Linked DNA regions of Homo sapiens: region 2 is linked to region 1. Evidence: promoter capture Hi-C in 16 types of primary human blood cells and fetal thymus (Javierre and others, 2016). All regions are on one chromosome and are shown on one strand. Each heading gives the region's core, a stretch centred on a gene start or on the middle of the fragment in contact. The rest is flanking DNA. Distances are from core to core; before and after follow the strand shown.

Region 1 (7,790 bases), core at 1,654-4,153:
CAGCACTTTGGGAGGCCGAGGCAGGCAGATCACGAGGTCAAAAGATTGAGACCATTCTGGATAACACGGTGAAACCCCATCTCTACTAAAAATACAAACAAATTAGCCGGGCATGGTGGCAGGCACCTGTAGTCCCAGCTACTTGGGAGGCTGAGGCAGGAGAATGGCGTGAACCCAGGAGGCAGAGCTTGCAGTGAGCCAAGATCACGCCACTGCACTCCAGCCTGGGTGACAGAGTGAGACTCCGTCTCAAAAAAAAAAAAAAAAAAATCTAGGGGCTGAAGATACAGTAGTGAACAAGAGAGAAATTTCCTGTTCTCATGAAGCTGATTTTCTAATGAGGGAGGCAAGACAACAGAAAATAAATGCATAATGTTGGGTAGTTGATATCCACTCTGAAAAAAATCAAGCAGGTTAAGGCCGGGCGCGGTGGCTCACGCCTGTAATCCCAGCACTTTGGGAGGCCGAGGCGGGCGGATCACCTGAGGTCAGGAGTTTGAAACCAGCCTGGCCAACATGGTGAAATCCGTCTCTACTAAAAACACAAAAAATTAGCCCGGCGTGATGGCAGGCACCTGTAATCCCAGCTACTCAAGAGGCTGAGGCAGGAGAATCGCTTGAACCCGGGAGGCAGAGGTTGCAGTGAGGTGAGATTGCACCATTGCACTCCAACCTGGGGGACAAAAGCAAGACTTTGTCTCAAAAAAAAAAAAAAAAAAATTCAAGCAGTTTAAGCAGATTTGGGCAGGAGGCCATTCTGCATAAGGTAGTCTGAAAAGGTCTCTGTCATAAGGTGACATTTAAGAGACCTGAATTGAATGAAATATTGGGGACAAGTGTTTCAGGCTAAATGAACAGCAAGTACAAAGGCCCTGAGGCAGGAAGAAATATGGCAAGTTCAAGGAATAGCTATCAGGCTAGTGTGGCTAAGGCAGGTCCAGCATGGTAGAGTGACAGATGTGGGTGGGGAGGGAAATAGGAACCAGATTGAACAGGGTTTCTGTGGATTTGGTTCTGAACAAAATGGCATGATCTGATTTATGCTTACAAAGATTTCCTGGATGCTCTGTGGAAAACAGACTAGGGAGGAGGAATGGAGGAGGTGGAAGCAGGGTGACCAATTAGTAGCTGCCATATAACCCAGGGCAAGATGATGGTGGCTTGATCGAGGATGGTTACATCAGAGTTGGCTGGTGGTGAATTTTGATGTTTTGAAGGTAGCACTGACAAAGCTGGCTGAGGGCTTGCAAATGGCATTGAGAGCAAGAGAAGCACATCAAGGACACCTTTTAGATTCTGGGGAACTGAATAAACAATAGTATCACTCTCTGAGGGAGGTAAGAACGGGAGTGGTGTGTAAGGAGTAGGTTGCTGAGGGCAAGATGTATTGTGTTTGAGATGCCAGTAAAATAAGCAGTTGAATCTGGAGGTCAGGGAAGAGATCTGGGCTGGAGACAAATCAGTGATCAGCATTTGGATATTATAAATCATTCCGAGGCAGTAAGTGTAGACACAAAAGAACATCATGGACTATGGCTGGGGCCTTCAGCAACTGGGGAAGAAGTCCAGAGAGGAGACAGAAATGGCCAGTGAAGTGAGGAAGATCAGAAGGACCTGGTGTCCAGGAAGTCAAGTGAGGAAAGTTGATTCTGTATGATCACAACCAAAGTGTCAACTCATAAGCCTTATTTTCTCATCTGTGAAATGGACACCGTAACACCACCTACTTCATGGCAGATAGTACTGGCACACAGCAAACTCTCAAAATAAGGTAGCTACTGTTATTCCCTGATGGTTGGCTGCCAGAGCCCTCAACTTCCCTATCCACATTACTGACAGCACCTCCATGAGTCTTTCTCTGGGGTGAGGTGTCTCTGCTCACTCAGGGCCTGAGGCCTCTGGGTCAAATCGAGGTCAAGTGGCTTCAGTGCCTAAGTCTCTCACCCACACAGCCTTCAGCCCTTACTTGCAAATCAACAAAGGGTAAACCTGTAGAAAACATGGGTTTCGGAGCCAGAATTCTGCCTCTTGCCAGCTGTGGGCTCTTAGGAAAGTTTCTTAATCTGCCGGGGCCCCACTCTACGACATGGGGAGAACTGCTACTTCATGGGACAGTGGGTAGCCCAGTGTAGACTGTAACGCCGGCTGATCTCCTGCACGCTGGCCTGGGAGTTAGAGGCTTCTTGCTGCTCTCCTCTTCAAAGTATACAGGACTCCCGCCACACACACATCTGGAACCAAGCTGGTCTGAGAGCCCCTTATAGCCCAGGCTACCTGATGGGGAGGCACAGAAGTGGCAACCCGTCCACTTTCTTTGCCGCAGGACCCCCCGTTAAGCAGCGGGGTCCAGCCGGGCTGAGTTAGGGAGGGGGTTTCGAACGTGCCACTCCTCGCCCGGCGTCGAAGCCCGTTTCCTGGGTAACCTTTTTCTGCCTCTCTTCCTAGCCCACCAAGGCCCACTGGCCAGAACGCCGCCGCGGCCCCAAACCACTCCAGATAACCACCCGCCAGCTGTCCTCTCCGTTCTCTCCGCCGCCGCGCTGCAGGCCCAGGCTCGCACCCGAGTCCCTTCGCACCCCAGGAAGTGGCGCGGCCTGTCGAGGGCAGCGTGGAGGAGGAAGAGGAGGCGCGGCTCAACGCGACCGAAGCTCCGCCGCAAAGGCTCGGGAGGAAGAGGGCGGTGCGCGGCCAAGCGTCGGAGCTGCAGTCATACTCCGGGGACCCCACGACGGCGCCCCGCCCGCTGCCCACCCTCCCGAGGCCCCGCCCAGCGCGCCCATCCCGCCACGGGCTGCCCCGCCTTCCCGCCCTCGTCCAGAAAACCCCGCGCCCGGCCCCGCCCCCGCCTTCGCCGGGGCCCCGCCCCTCCCCTCTCCGCCGGCGCCTCGGGCGGCTTCTCGCCGCTCCCAGGTCTGGCTGGCTGGAGGAGTCTCAGCTCTCAGCCGCTCGCCCGCCCCCGCTCCGGGCCCTCCCCTAGTCGCCGCTGTGGGGCAGCGCCTGGCGGGCGGCCCGCGGGCGGGTCGCCTCCCCTCCTGTAGCCCACACCCTTCTTAAAGCGGCGGCGGGAAGATGAGGCTTCGGGAGCCGCTCCTGAGCGGCAGCGCCGCGATGCCAGGCGCGTCCCTACAGCGGGCCTGCCGCCTGCTCGTGGCCGTCTGCGCTCTGCACCTTGGCGTCACCCTCGTTTACTACCTGGCTGGCCGCGACCTGAGCCGCCTGCCCCAACTGGTCGGAGTCTCCACACCGCTGCAGGGCGGCTCGAACAGTGCCGCCGCCATCGGGCAGTCCTCCGGGGAGCTCCGGACCGGAGGGGCCCGGCCGCCGCCTCCTCTAGGCGCCTCCTCCCAGCCGCGCCCGGGTGGCGACTCCAGCCCAGTCGTGGATTCTGGCCCTGGCCCCGCTAGCAACTTGACCTCGGTCCCAGTGCCCCACACCACCGCACTGTCGCTGCCCGCCTGCCCTGAGGAGTCCCCGCTGCTTGGTAAGGACTCGGGTCGGCGCCAGTCGGAGGATTGGGACCCCCCCGGATTTCCCCGACAGGGTCCCCCAGACATTCCCTCAGGCTGGCTCTTCTACGACAGCCAGCCTCCCTCTTCTGGATCAGAGTTTTAAATCCCAGACAGAGGCTTGGGACTGGATGGGAGAGAAGGTTTGCGAGGTGGGTCCCTGGGGAGTCCTGTTGGAGGCGTGGGGCCGGGACCGCACAGGGAAGTCCCGAGGCCCCTCTAGCCCCAGAACCAGAGAAGGCCTTGGAGACTTCCCTGCTGTGGCCCGAGGCTCAGGAAGTTTTGGAGTTTGGGTCTGCTTAGGGCTTCGAGCAGCCTTGCACTGAGAACTCTGGTAGGGACCTCGAGTAATCCACTCCCTTTTGGGGACTGACGTGAGGCTCCCGGTGGGGAAGGAGACTGACCTCTCGGTTCACGTGTCTTGCCATAGAGCCACTCTCCTGAGTGGGTTTTTCTCCTGATCGTTTGGGCCAAGTGACTTCTCTCTGAACCTCATATTTCTCTTCTGGGATAATAAATGGTCACCCTTTCAAGGGGTTGTTTTGGAAGATATTGTGAACAATGGTAAATAAGGGCTTAATTAATGAGGGTAAGCCCTCAGTAAATTGTCACTGTGTGTTCATTTCTTCCTCTGTGTGGATCGTGACCGAGAGCCCTTCCCCCTAGCCTCCTCCTGGTATGGGTACCCAAAACCTAGGTGAGCAGGGATCTCTCCCAGGGGCAGAGAGCTTGTGTACTCTGGGTGTTAGAGGGCTAAAATATAACCAGTCAACACCACGTTGCCCATTTCTGGTACTTCCGGTAGCAGCCTGAGTCTCAATTATCTTGCCCAGATGATCTGAACTCTGACCTCTAGCCTGTTTCAGCATAGGCAGAGAGCTTGAGTAGGTGAGTTTGCATTCCTCATAGCAGCTGGCTGAGCCTAGTCTGGACTTCTCTTTGACCTGTAACCTACAGGCCCACAGGCCCAAGGCAACCACAGGTTGCTTCCAGGGTTACCACACAGGTGGTTTCTCATTTCTAATGCTAGGTTTTAGATAATTGTTGTAAGTGAGGGGCCCTGGCAGGCAGGATGACATCCTGCCAATAGGAGTTTTCTGTCACTTTCCCACAGAGCCCTGGCTACTACATACTCTTGCTCAATTTCGCCAGTAATTGCGTCAATGTGTTCATATCAAGTTTGGGAAGAACATCTTGGAATTGGTCAGACGTGAACTGTGGTAATAATGGGGGCTTGTTTTTTTAAGCAGATAATTAAATTCCTTTGCATTTGATGATTATTCTGGGAAGCAGACTAGTCCCATAAAATGAAATGGACTCTGCCTTGCTGCTAAGTGTCTGACTTGAGACATGCTATCGAGTTTCTCAAAATCTCTTCCTTGTGTAAAATGTGGTTGTCGATGATTACCTTACAGGGGTTTTTTTAAGACTAAATGAGATCGTGTACATTAAATACAGGCACTCAGGCTGGGCATGGTGGCTCACGCCTGTAATCCTAGCACTTTGGGAGGCTGAGGGGAGTGGATCACTTGAGGTTAGGAGTTTGAGACCAGCCTGGCCAATATGGTGAAACACCATCCCATCTCTACAAAAATACAAAAAAGTTAGCCAGGGGTGGTGGCATCGCAGCTACTCAGGAGGCCGAGGCAGGAGAATTGCTTGAACCTGGGAGGCAGAGGTTGCAGTGAGTCAAGATTGTGCCAGTACACTCCAGCCTGGGCGACGAAGCAAGACTGTCTAAAAAAAAAAAAAAAAAAAAAAATACGGGCACTCAATACACCGTATAATAATAATATAGTAATAATATTTGCTTAGGATCTTTAAAAAGTTTCATTTTTTCAGACTCCCACAGAAATGGCTCTGCACAGCAGAGTGAAGGGGGAGAGAGACTGAGTCTCCAGGCCAGAAAAAGGCCAGGTTTTTTGCTTTTGTTTTTAGTTGTTGCCTGGATATTGCACAGAAAGAAAAAATAATTAGCAAGTTAAACAAAAGTACCGCAAAGTTGATTACATTGGTATTTGAGTATCACATCTTCTCTCAGAAGCGTAAGAGACAAGGTCGTGACCATACCTCTGCTTAGTTTTGTTTTGTAATGGTGTTGCTAGTGATCGGCTTGTCACCAGTTACTGGTGTTTCTAAATGGACTATAATTGGCTACTTGAAAGGACTTCCTGAGAAAGAACATTTTGGAGGACGAGGAGAGAGTGCCTTCTCTATTTTGGCTGCTTTCATGTGACATGCAAGAGACCATGACGTTTAGGCTGCTGCTGAGGCAGCCCCAGAAATGGGGGCCGAGAGGTCTTTTCTTCATTTTAATAGGGTCTGTAGGTTTGGGTGGTTAGGTACAGTTCTCAGAATGGAGGTTCCTGGCTATGAGGCCTTGAGAAAGCTGAAAGTCTCCTTGGGAGTGTGTGGGTGGGGGGAGTCGAGCCCATCTGTTCATGGGCAGGTGTCAGCCAAAGCCCTTGCGGGTGGTTTTGAGGTTGGTGGGAGAAAGCATCCGTGGGGTTTAGAGTTGTGGCCTTTTCACTACTTGCAGTTCCTTTCCCCGACTTGGCTTTACTTTCTGGTGTCCAGGGGTCTGGGCCAGATGCTGAGATTCCTCTCAGCTGACAGGTGTGGGTTATGGGCAAACCCTTCCCTGGAGGACATAAGGCACCGGATTGGACTGCTGATGGGTTGCTGTTGGAGTTGTCAGGGCCTTGGAATAGTCTTCAGATAGACTTGGGTTAGTGTGACCTGGGGCAGGCTGCAGGTTTGGAGCCATAGTACCCCCCGCCCCCACACCGGGCACCCTGCTCTGGGCTAATGTGAGGCTTGCAGGAGTGAGTGATGCAGTGGGAAGGGGGGCCTTTCCTGAGGATTCTACAGCTTTCTCCAGGGAATCCTCCCAGGTAGTTTAGGCCTGCAGGTGCTATGCTATCCTTCTTTCCTAACCCTGTCTCAGGTCCTCAGCGGGGCCATGCGGCATCCACTTATAACCCTGCAGCGAGGCCCTCTTTTCTGGCCACCTGGGTGTTTGCCTGCTGAGATGGGAGGAACAGTGGCCTTGGGCTTCTTCCCCCGTCATGTTTATCTCTGCTCAGATTGGGCAGCAGCTCAATGGGACTTGACCAGCTGTGGCACTGCCAGTCTGAAGATGAGTAGGGTGATGGGGGGAGGTGGGCAGTACCTGAAGCTGAACTGGTGAGAGAGGCAGGCTGGCCTGGGGGCTCAGCTGGGGCCTGGGATGGTTGGTACAGTCCCCTCAGGGGGGTAGGGGAGTGAGTGTTAGACTGCTTAAGCCTCAGAGGCCGCTCTTGCCCACCTATGCTTTGAGGAGATCCTCTTCATTTGTTCAAAGGGAAGACTCTGATCTAGAGATGGGCACTTGGACCAGCAAACAGCAGCTACAGGTAGCCAGGGCACCCGAGGAGCACTTGCTCATGAGCCGGTTTCCCTGGTTTTTATGGGGGCTGTTGCTGAGCGTCTGCCAGGGTTTGTGTCCTAGCACTTGCTGGTCTTTGCTGGGCTCTCAGCTCTCAGGTGTTTCTCTACCAGCACGTTTCCCCCTCCCTCATATGCACACATGTGGACACAAGCAGGCTGCCCAGGACAGAGTGTACTTTGAGGCTTGGGAAAGGACTCTCTCTCGCCCTTTTGGGGATGAGCCTTGGAACCTCATCACCTTCCGGCTTGGGGTGGAGCTTCATCCTGGGGGTTGAAGCTTTAGGCTCAGATAACTAGTCTTGTAAGCCAGTTTTGTCCTGTTGTTTTTTTCGTGGAAAATAATGTATTGACGTATACACAGACATTCTTTGTCTAACAGTCTGAGATTGAGAAATACCCTCCATGACTATTTGGTTTGCTTTCATGGTGAAACTTGGTCGCTTTCTTAGACACAGCCTATGGCAATAAGAGTGATCCCTGGCTGCTGTAATTCATTCCAGACTTTGAGCAAACACAAGGCACCGCCTCCACCTGCAGTGGAGCCTCTGATGAACCAAATGGAAACTCCTTGGGGAATGGGGAGTAAGAGCCAAATGTGGGATTGGACTTAAACTGCAGCTTCTTAGAACTGTAGCATTCCACGATGGGATTGTCTAGTGCTCTTCCTGGAGGTTACTATTCAATAGTTGGCTAGTGCACAGGTTCAGGGGTGACCTGATATGCCCTAGCGTTTCAGAAGATCCCTGCAAGGTGTGTCTTTTGGTCCATCTGAAGGGTCTTGTATGGTGATCTTGTATGGATATCCGTGACGGCTAAGGCATCTGATAACTTCATTCCTTCAGTTCCAGCAGTGTT
Region 2 (7,790 bases), core at 3,092-5,591, 5.7 Mb after region 1:
TCATAAACTGATGGAGGGGCCAGACATGTGAGCAAAGAAATACAGCACAGTATGTGGTCCTGGGGCATTCGCATCAGAGATGTGCATGCAAGGTGCACACGATGACCAGCCATCCCGTCCTTCTTGCTCCTTCTTTTGGTACCTTGTTCCCTCTGCTTTACCAGGAGTTGAAGTTAAGCCAGAGAGAAGTTTGAGGAAATCGAGGCTGGGCAAGGGAGAGGCCTTATCTGAGTGGATAGAAAGTTTTTCAGTTCCCTGGAGAAAGCTTCTGATAATCATGTTCCCAGACAGTAGCCACATACAGGGGCATGGGACTGTCAGGCCTAAAGCTCACTGTCAATTGTGGAGGATTCAGAAGCACTTCATAGATGATGGGGGACTCTGTTCTGAGCAGTCTGTCTCTGTGTGTCTGCCACTGAGCAGTAACTGGTACAAATGCACCCTATGACTAGGTTTTCTTTCTTAGCTGAGAAATCTCTTGAGAAGGCTATGCATTTCTGGTGTGTAGACAGACTTTCTGCAGATGAGTAAGTTATGTCTTAAACAGAGTTCTTGTTGAACTAATGTCACGAAGAGTCTCTGCTAACAAAAACAGCTAACTTTGCATAGCCAAGCCACTCTGCACAACTTAACAATGTTAGTTCTCCAATAGAGCCCTAATAAACAAGTCACACCACTCTTCCCTATGTGGCTTCAAAGAAGTTGATAGTAACAATACAACAACAAAAACAAAAATCAACTTTGTTTCTTATGGAAGCCAGACTGTTAACCAATGGGCCTGTTAACTCTAAACTCTGGATTTGCCCACCCTTTCCCATGTAGCACTGGTGAGAGCAGACCAATTCCATTCATAAAGGCAGAAAGCTGGGGAAGCAGCAGGTAGCACACTTGAAAGCAGGCACTTCGCAGGAGGAAAAAAGGTCAGGCTGAGCCAGCTGAGCATGTGCGGTTTGCCAACTAAGTGAATCCATCCCTCCACTTGCCCTGGGGCGATGTTAGTAAAAGGACATAGAGAGGATAGTAGGATGCATAGGGAAAATTCTTCCTCATCCAAACCACGAGTGGGGAAATGGTGCTTCCCTCTGAGGTGCCTCAAGATTTTACACTTTTTGAGGGTCATGTGCTTAGGTCTTGTGGGGAAGAAGTCAAAGAAAGAGCACATTATGGTTGGGACTCCTATTGATCATCACACCACCTGAAATCTGATCATAGGAGAAATCCAGATTAATAAATTTAACACTTGACATTTACCTATCTTTACTTATATTATCTCACTTATCCCCAAAACCCACTGTGATATTGGTATTAGCACCCTAACAACAAAGAAAGAAATTAAAGCACAAAGAGAAAGCATTTAGCCCACAAGGGTAACTGGTCAAGGGGCAGAGTCTGGACTCAGACCTGCATCTTTCTGGCTCTAAAGGTAGACCTCTTTTCAGTCTTTGAGGAGGATACATGGTTTGCAATTACATGTCTGACTCAATTTCATTTCAAACTTTTTTTTTAACTTGTTATTGGCATGTTTGAGAGAATAGAGTGGGTAGAATCATTAATTATTTGTCTCAATTTTATCTCAGGGTTACCTGCTTTGTGTACCTGTTTTTCATGTAGAAAAATGAGAAATCATCTAGCTAGATGGTTGTCTGTTCTCTCTTGAGAGTTTCTAGAAATGCAGACTTAATCCTTCTGGCAGGATCTCTGGATTCTGATAACAGGAATGATAACAGGAATGATATGGTTTGGCTGTGTCCCCACCCAAATCTCAACTTGAATTTTATCTCCCAAAATTCCCACATATTGTAGGACGGACCCAAGGGGAGATAATTGAATCATAAGGGCCGGTCTTTCCCGTGCTATTCTTGTGATAGTGAATAAGTCTCACGAGATCTGATGGGTTTATCAGGGGTTTCTGCTTTTGCTTCTTCCTCATTTTCTCTTGCTGCTGCCGTATAAGAAGTGCCTTCTGCCTCCCACTATGATTCTGAGGCCTCCCCAACCATGTGGAACTCTAAGTCCAATTAAACCCCTTTTTTCTTCCCAGTTTTGGGTATGTTTTTATCAGCAGCATGAAAATGGACAAATATAGTAAATTGGTACCAGTAGAGTGAGGCGTTGCTGAAAAGATACCCGAAAATGTGGAAGTGACTTTGGAACTGGGTAACAGGCAGAGGTTGGAACAATGTGAAGGGTTCAGAAGACAGGAAAATGTGGGAAAGTTTGGAACCTCCTAAAGACTTGTTGAATGGCTTTGACAAAAATGCTGATAGTGATGTGAACAATAAGGTCCAGGCTGAAGTGGTCTCAGATGGAGATGAGGAACTTGTTGGGAACTGGAGCAAAGGTGACTCTTGTTATATTTTAGCAAAGAGACTGGTGGCCCTAGAGATTTGTGGAACTTTGAACTTGAGAGAGATGATTTAGGGTAACTGGCGGAAGAAATTTCTAAGCAGCAAAGCTTTCAGAAGGTAACTTGGGTGCTGTTAAATGCATTCTGTTTTAAAAGAGAAACAGAGCGTAAAAGTTCAGAAAATTTGCAGCCTGACGATGCAGTAGAAAAGAAAAACCCATTTTTTGAGGAGAAATTCAAGTCGGCTGCATAAGGAGCAAGGAGCCTAATGTTAATCCCTAAGACCATGGGGAAAATGTCTCCAGGCCATGTCAGAGATCTTCATGGCTGCCCCACCCATCACAGGCCCAGAGGCCCAGCAGGAAAAAGTGGTTTTGTGGGCCGGTCCCAGGATCCCCGTGCTGTATGCAGCCTAGGAACTTGGTGCCCTGTGTCCCAGCCATTCCAGCTGTGGCCGAAAGGGCCAACGTAGAGCTCAGGGTGTGGCTTCAGAGGGTGGAAGCCCCAGGCCTTGGCAGTTTCCACGTGGTGTTGAGCCTGTGGGTGCACAGAAGTCAAGAATTGAGGTTTGGAAACCTCCCCCTAGATTTCAGAAGATGTGTGGACATGCCTGGATACCCAGGCAAAAGTTTGCTGCAGGGGCGGGACCCTCATGGAGAACCTCCGCTAGGGCAGTGCAGAAGGGAAATGTGGGGTTGGAGCCCCCACACAGAGTCCCTACTGGGGCACTGCTTGGTGGAGCTGTAAGAAGAGGGCCATCGTCTTCCAGACCCCAGAATGGTAGATCCACTGACAGCTTGCACTGTGCACCTGGAAAAGCCACACACACTTAATGCCAGCCCATGAAAGCAGCCAGCAGGGAGGCTGTACCCTGCAAAGCCACAGGGGTGGAGCTTCCCAAAATAATGGGAACCCACTTCTTGCAGCAGCATGACCTGGATGTCAGACCTGGAGTCAAAGGAGATCATTTTGGAGCTTTAAAATTTGACTGCCCTGCTGGATTTCGGACTTGCATGGGCCCTGTAACCCCTTTGTTTTGGCCAATTTCTCCCATTTGGAACAGCTGTATTTACCCAATACCTGTACGCACATTGTGTCTAGGAATTAACTAGCTTGCTGTTGACTTTGCAGGCTTATAGGTGGAAGGGACTTGCCTTGTCTCAGATGAGACTTTGGACTATGGACTTTTGGGTTAATGCTGAAATGAGTTAAGACTTTGGGTGACTGTTGGGAAGGCATGATTGGTTTTGAAATGTGAGGTCGTGAGATTTGGAGGGGCCAGGGGCAGAATGATATGGTTTGGCTGTGTCCCCACCCAAATCTCAACTTGAATTATATCTCCCAGAGTTCTCACATGCTATGGCAGGGACCCAGGGGGAGATAATTGAATCATGGGGGCCAGTCTTTCCCATGCTATTCTCGTGATAGTGAATAAGTCTCACGAGATCTGATGGGTTTATCAGGGGTCTCTTTTTTTGCTTCTTCCTCATTTTTCTCTTGCTGCTGCCATGTAAGAAGTGTCTTCCACCTCCCGCCATGATTCTGAGGCCTCCCCAGCCATGTGGAACTGTAAGTCCAATTAAACCTCTTTTTGTTCCCATTTTCAGGTATGTCTTTATCAGCAGCATGAAAATGAGCTAATATAAAAAATAACTTTTTAAACAGTTTAGAAAGTCATTTCTGTTATCAGAATACAGAGGTTGTAACTGGATTATAACCAGGAATGTAATGTGTTAAATGTAGAGTATTTATATGCTATTCTGAAAAGTGTTTGAGGGATTAGTGGGAGGGCATGGTGGATATAATTTGCCCAAATTCATGAAATAAGCCATATTGCATTAGATTTATTATATGCAAAAAAATACTGGAACTCCCTCAAAATATTAGGGTAAGTGTGTTATAAATGTTGGGGAATATTGTTAACTCATTATCAAATCACTGAGGTTAATATTATTTCTTTTTGCCTGAGAATTAGAAGTCCACCCAAATTAAGCAAGAATGAAGCATTTTCTTTCTTTCTTTCCTCCTATGCAGGGCTTCCATTGCCACCGTGCCCCCCACCCCTACCACCTCCTGCCTATTTCTTATTCGTAAACACACATTTGCATTGAACTGAATCATTTTCTGTTTCTCACATCATTTCTTGATATTAAGTCAAAAGTCATAGTTTCTTTTATCAGTCACTATGTCAATAACCATATAATTGTTTTCCATTTGTGAAGCACTTTCACTGGCAATATCTCTTCTAATTTTCACAGTAACCTTACAATAAAGGTAAGCACCATTAACCGTTATCCTTATTATTTTTTTCTTTTTTCTTTTTTTTGAGACAGGGTCTCATGCTGCTGCCCAGGCTGGAGCACGGTGGTGCAATCATGGCTCACTGCAGTCTGGACATCCCCAGGCTCAGGTGATCCTCCCACCTCAGCCTCCCAAGTAGCTGGGACTACAGGCGTGTCCCACTGGGCTAATTTTTGTATTTTTTGTAGAGATGAGGTTTTGCCATGTTGCCTAGGCTGGTCTCGAACTCCTGGGCTCAAGCAATCAGCCTGGCTCAGCTTCCCAAAGTGTTAGGATTACAGACGTGAGTCACTGTGCCCAGCCACCATCATCTTTAAAGAAGACAAAACTGAGATTCATAAAAAGTGTCTGTTCAAAGACATAGCCAGCTAAAGTCATTGCCAGAATTTGAATCCAGGTCTTTTGAATCTAGACCGCGAAGTTTCCAGAAATAGATCTCTTCTGGAGTGGCACATGACAATGTACATAGGGCTAGGTCTCTGTTTCTCCCATTTCCTCCCTGACCCCCTTAGGTGTACCCCAGAACTTCCTCTGTTTTGTTTTTTTTCTTTAACTACCCAACTGTCTAAAGAGGCACTTTTAAGTAGGTGGTAAGAGGTTTGGAGTCAGCTTGGCTACTTACTGGTTCTGTGATCAGGATATAGCTTCAATCTCACTGTGTCTCAGTTTCCTTAAGCGTAAATTAGGTATAATAATAATAATACCTATTCATAAGGTTGTGAAAACTAAAATAAATAGGAAGTCCTTAATAAATACCATTGTTAATATTATATAATTAGAATTTTAGGCATCCTAAGATAGATTCTAGGTGACTGGTCTCTCAAGAATCTGACTCTCTAGTAAAACTTGTATCATAATATGATTCAAATGATGAACATGATGATAGCAACAACCACTATACTATATTCAGTACTTGCTAATGCTAAGTGTTTTACGTAAACTGTTTGAATTCTTGCAGCAACCCTGCAAAAGCTGTGTGCTGTTAGCCACTGGGCTTTAGTGCCTCTTAATCTTGCCTGCTCTTGGTGTTAATTTTACCTATCCCCTGTCAAACTTAAACTTATGATCTTTTGAAAATTCAAACTGTATTTTCGAATTTCCAGTCTTCTTGCCCATTTTGTGTTCTCCACCTTCCTGCAAAGATCTTTTGCAATGGTTCCAGATGTCATACATAAGTTCTCATGGTGCTAGGGCTAGAAATTTTTCAGACTTTGAGACTCAAGTTCACTTAGTGGCTAAGAGTAAACAAGTCTGTTGTCAGTTACAGGATCCAACTTCCTTGAATTTGAACCTTTTTCCTTTAAGACTTTTCCAAGAAAGGATTGACATACGCTGTTTCAAAGAAAAAGAAAGGGTAACTGACAATGACCTTTATCCCAGTATCCACTGAAGGTTCAGAGTGATATCATATCAGCTGATATACACCCATGCTTTATAAAGTAAAAATACTTATCTCAATATCCGTTCAAGGTTCAGAGTGACATCATATCAGCTGATATACACTCATGCTTTAAAAAGTAAAAATACTTACATTTTTTACCTGCCTTAATTTTTTATTTCAGCTATAACTTAAGCTTTATCTGTAGTTCTCATCCCATCCCCCATTCTTCTACCCTCACCTGACTTAGATATTGTTTTTTTCAATTCACGTGTCTTTCTTTAAGCCACAAAAATGAATATTTTCCAGCTAGTCTAAATATCTGGAAATAATATACCAAATCTCTCACTGACTTAGAGAAGTTTCTCTTTCTTTTAAAAAAAATCAGTATAATCAGTAGGATGTCATTATAAGATTTATAATCTTTATAAGATTAAATAGGTCATCTGAGCTTTTATCCTGTAATAATTTTACTTTACTATTTATTTTTACAACTGCAGTAAGATTGGATCAACCCTGCCCAAGGTTTGACCAAAAGGTCTTCATCTTTGTCATTGTTGGGAATCTAAGCTAGTTGGTACTGGTGTCCAGAAGGAACATTATTCTCTTTATTTCAGAAAACATTTTTTAAAACTCTGTCTTTTGTTCCATGGACTGTCAGTAGGTAATGTTTCAAACCATACCAAACAAATCCCACTCTTTTCTTTTACTCTTTCCATTCTTTCTCACCACTAAGTGTCCTCTTCTGAATGATGATGAATCATTATAGGTTTTTGCTGAAAACACCTGTGCATTCATCTATTGTAGCTGTTGCTGCTGCTACAGTGTATAAGGTTACAGGTAATGCTTTCATTTTGGCACTATTTACTTACACATTTGATGCTAGAATGTCTGCACTGATGACCAAAACAATAAGCCTGTGAAACAGCAAGAATGCAATTCAAACGACCATTGAAGAGCTAGAAGATGAGCAGAATAGTCCTGTGACAGACTTCTGTACGGTTACACCTATTTGTACTAACTTCATCTGTGTTCAGAAATAATGTGAGCATTCTAAGCTCTGAAACCATGCATATCTTTGAAGATTAAAATGAGGCAGCAAGGTTTCTCCCAACTAATGTAACAAAATGCAGTGATATGACAGCTCAAAGTTGAGGAGTTGAATTCGTTGGGGAAAAAAATAGCAAAGCTGCTTCTCAGGCAGGAATCTCTTCCATTCTGGGGTTGTCCTGTGGGCAAAGATGGCACCTACTAAGTAGGCATAAGGTAAACAGTGCATAAGGGCTGATGGAATTGCATCTTAGGCACATCCTTTATTGGATCCTGGAAAGGTCAGACGATGTTCATTTTATGATACACACATACATACACCCCTCTAAAATAAAAACCCAATCTACTTTAATTCAATATTTGGGAAGTGGGAGGACGATTCCAAGGACTATTCCAGCTATAAAGAGAACAATATAGTGGGAAAATGAGAAATCAGACTGGTCATTCTTTGATTCTGAAGAGGTGGAATTTCAGATAACACAGAGGAATGGAGCAGCTCATTTGAAAGAAAAGTTGAGCTGAAGTCTTGTCCTTTCAGGAGGCAGACTTGTTACTTCAGGGTATCCCAGCGGCCTCAGTGAGTTGGCAGTGAGCTTACAGATTGACATAGAGTCCCCAAATAACTGAAGACAGGAGATCCACTTTGGTTCCTCTTTTGTGGTTTCACTGTGATGTAAAATGTTCGTAATTCACTGTCATTTACTCATTCATTCA

The links. Contacts are between HindIII fragments. The CHiCAGO score rates a contact against its expected background, and 5 or more counts as called.
Region 2: a contact is called between a fragment that was not itself captured here and the fragment with the promoter of B4GALT1 in region 1, in 1 of 17 cell types (M0 macrophages). The highest score is 7.8, in M0 macrophages.

The regions. Positions count from the first base shown.
Region 1 is chr9:33,162,449-33,170,238 of GRCh38, reverse strand. B4GALT1 (beta-1,4-galactosyltransferase 1) reads left to right here and starts at 2,903. Exons shown (of 6, transcript NM_001497.4): 1 at 2,903-3,481. The coding sequence starts at 3,070. It overlaps B4GALT1-AS1 (B4GALT1 antisense RNA 1), which reads right to left and starts at 3,291. Exons shown (of 3, transcript NR_108110.1): 1 at 3,193-3,291. RefSeq lists enhancers at 2,320-2,399, 1,922-2,486, 2,470-2,569, 2,487-3,052, 5,853-5,902 and 3 more and silencers at 2,720-3,119, 2,878-3,151. The HindIII fragment of the contact is 9,103 bases long and covers 1-7,214 here.
Region 2 is chr9:27,460,840-27,468,629 of GRCh38, reverse strand. All of the region lies in intron 1 of MOB3B (MOB kinase activator 3B), which reads left to right. Among named protein-coding and RNA genes, the nearest start is that of IFNK, 60 kb to the left of the region's middle. RefSeq lists an enhancer at 2,880-3,381. The HindIII fragment of the contact is 3,767 bases long and covers 2,458-6,224 here.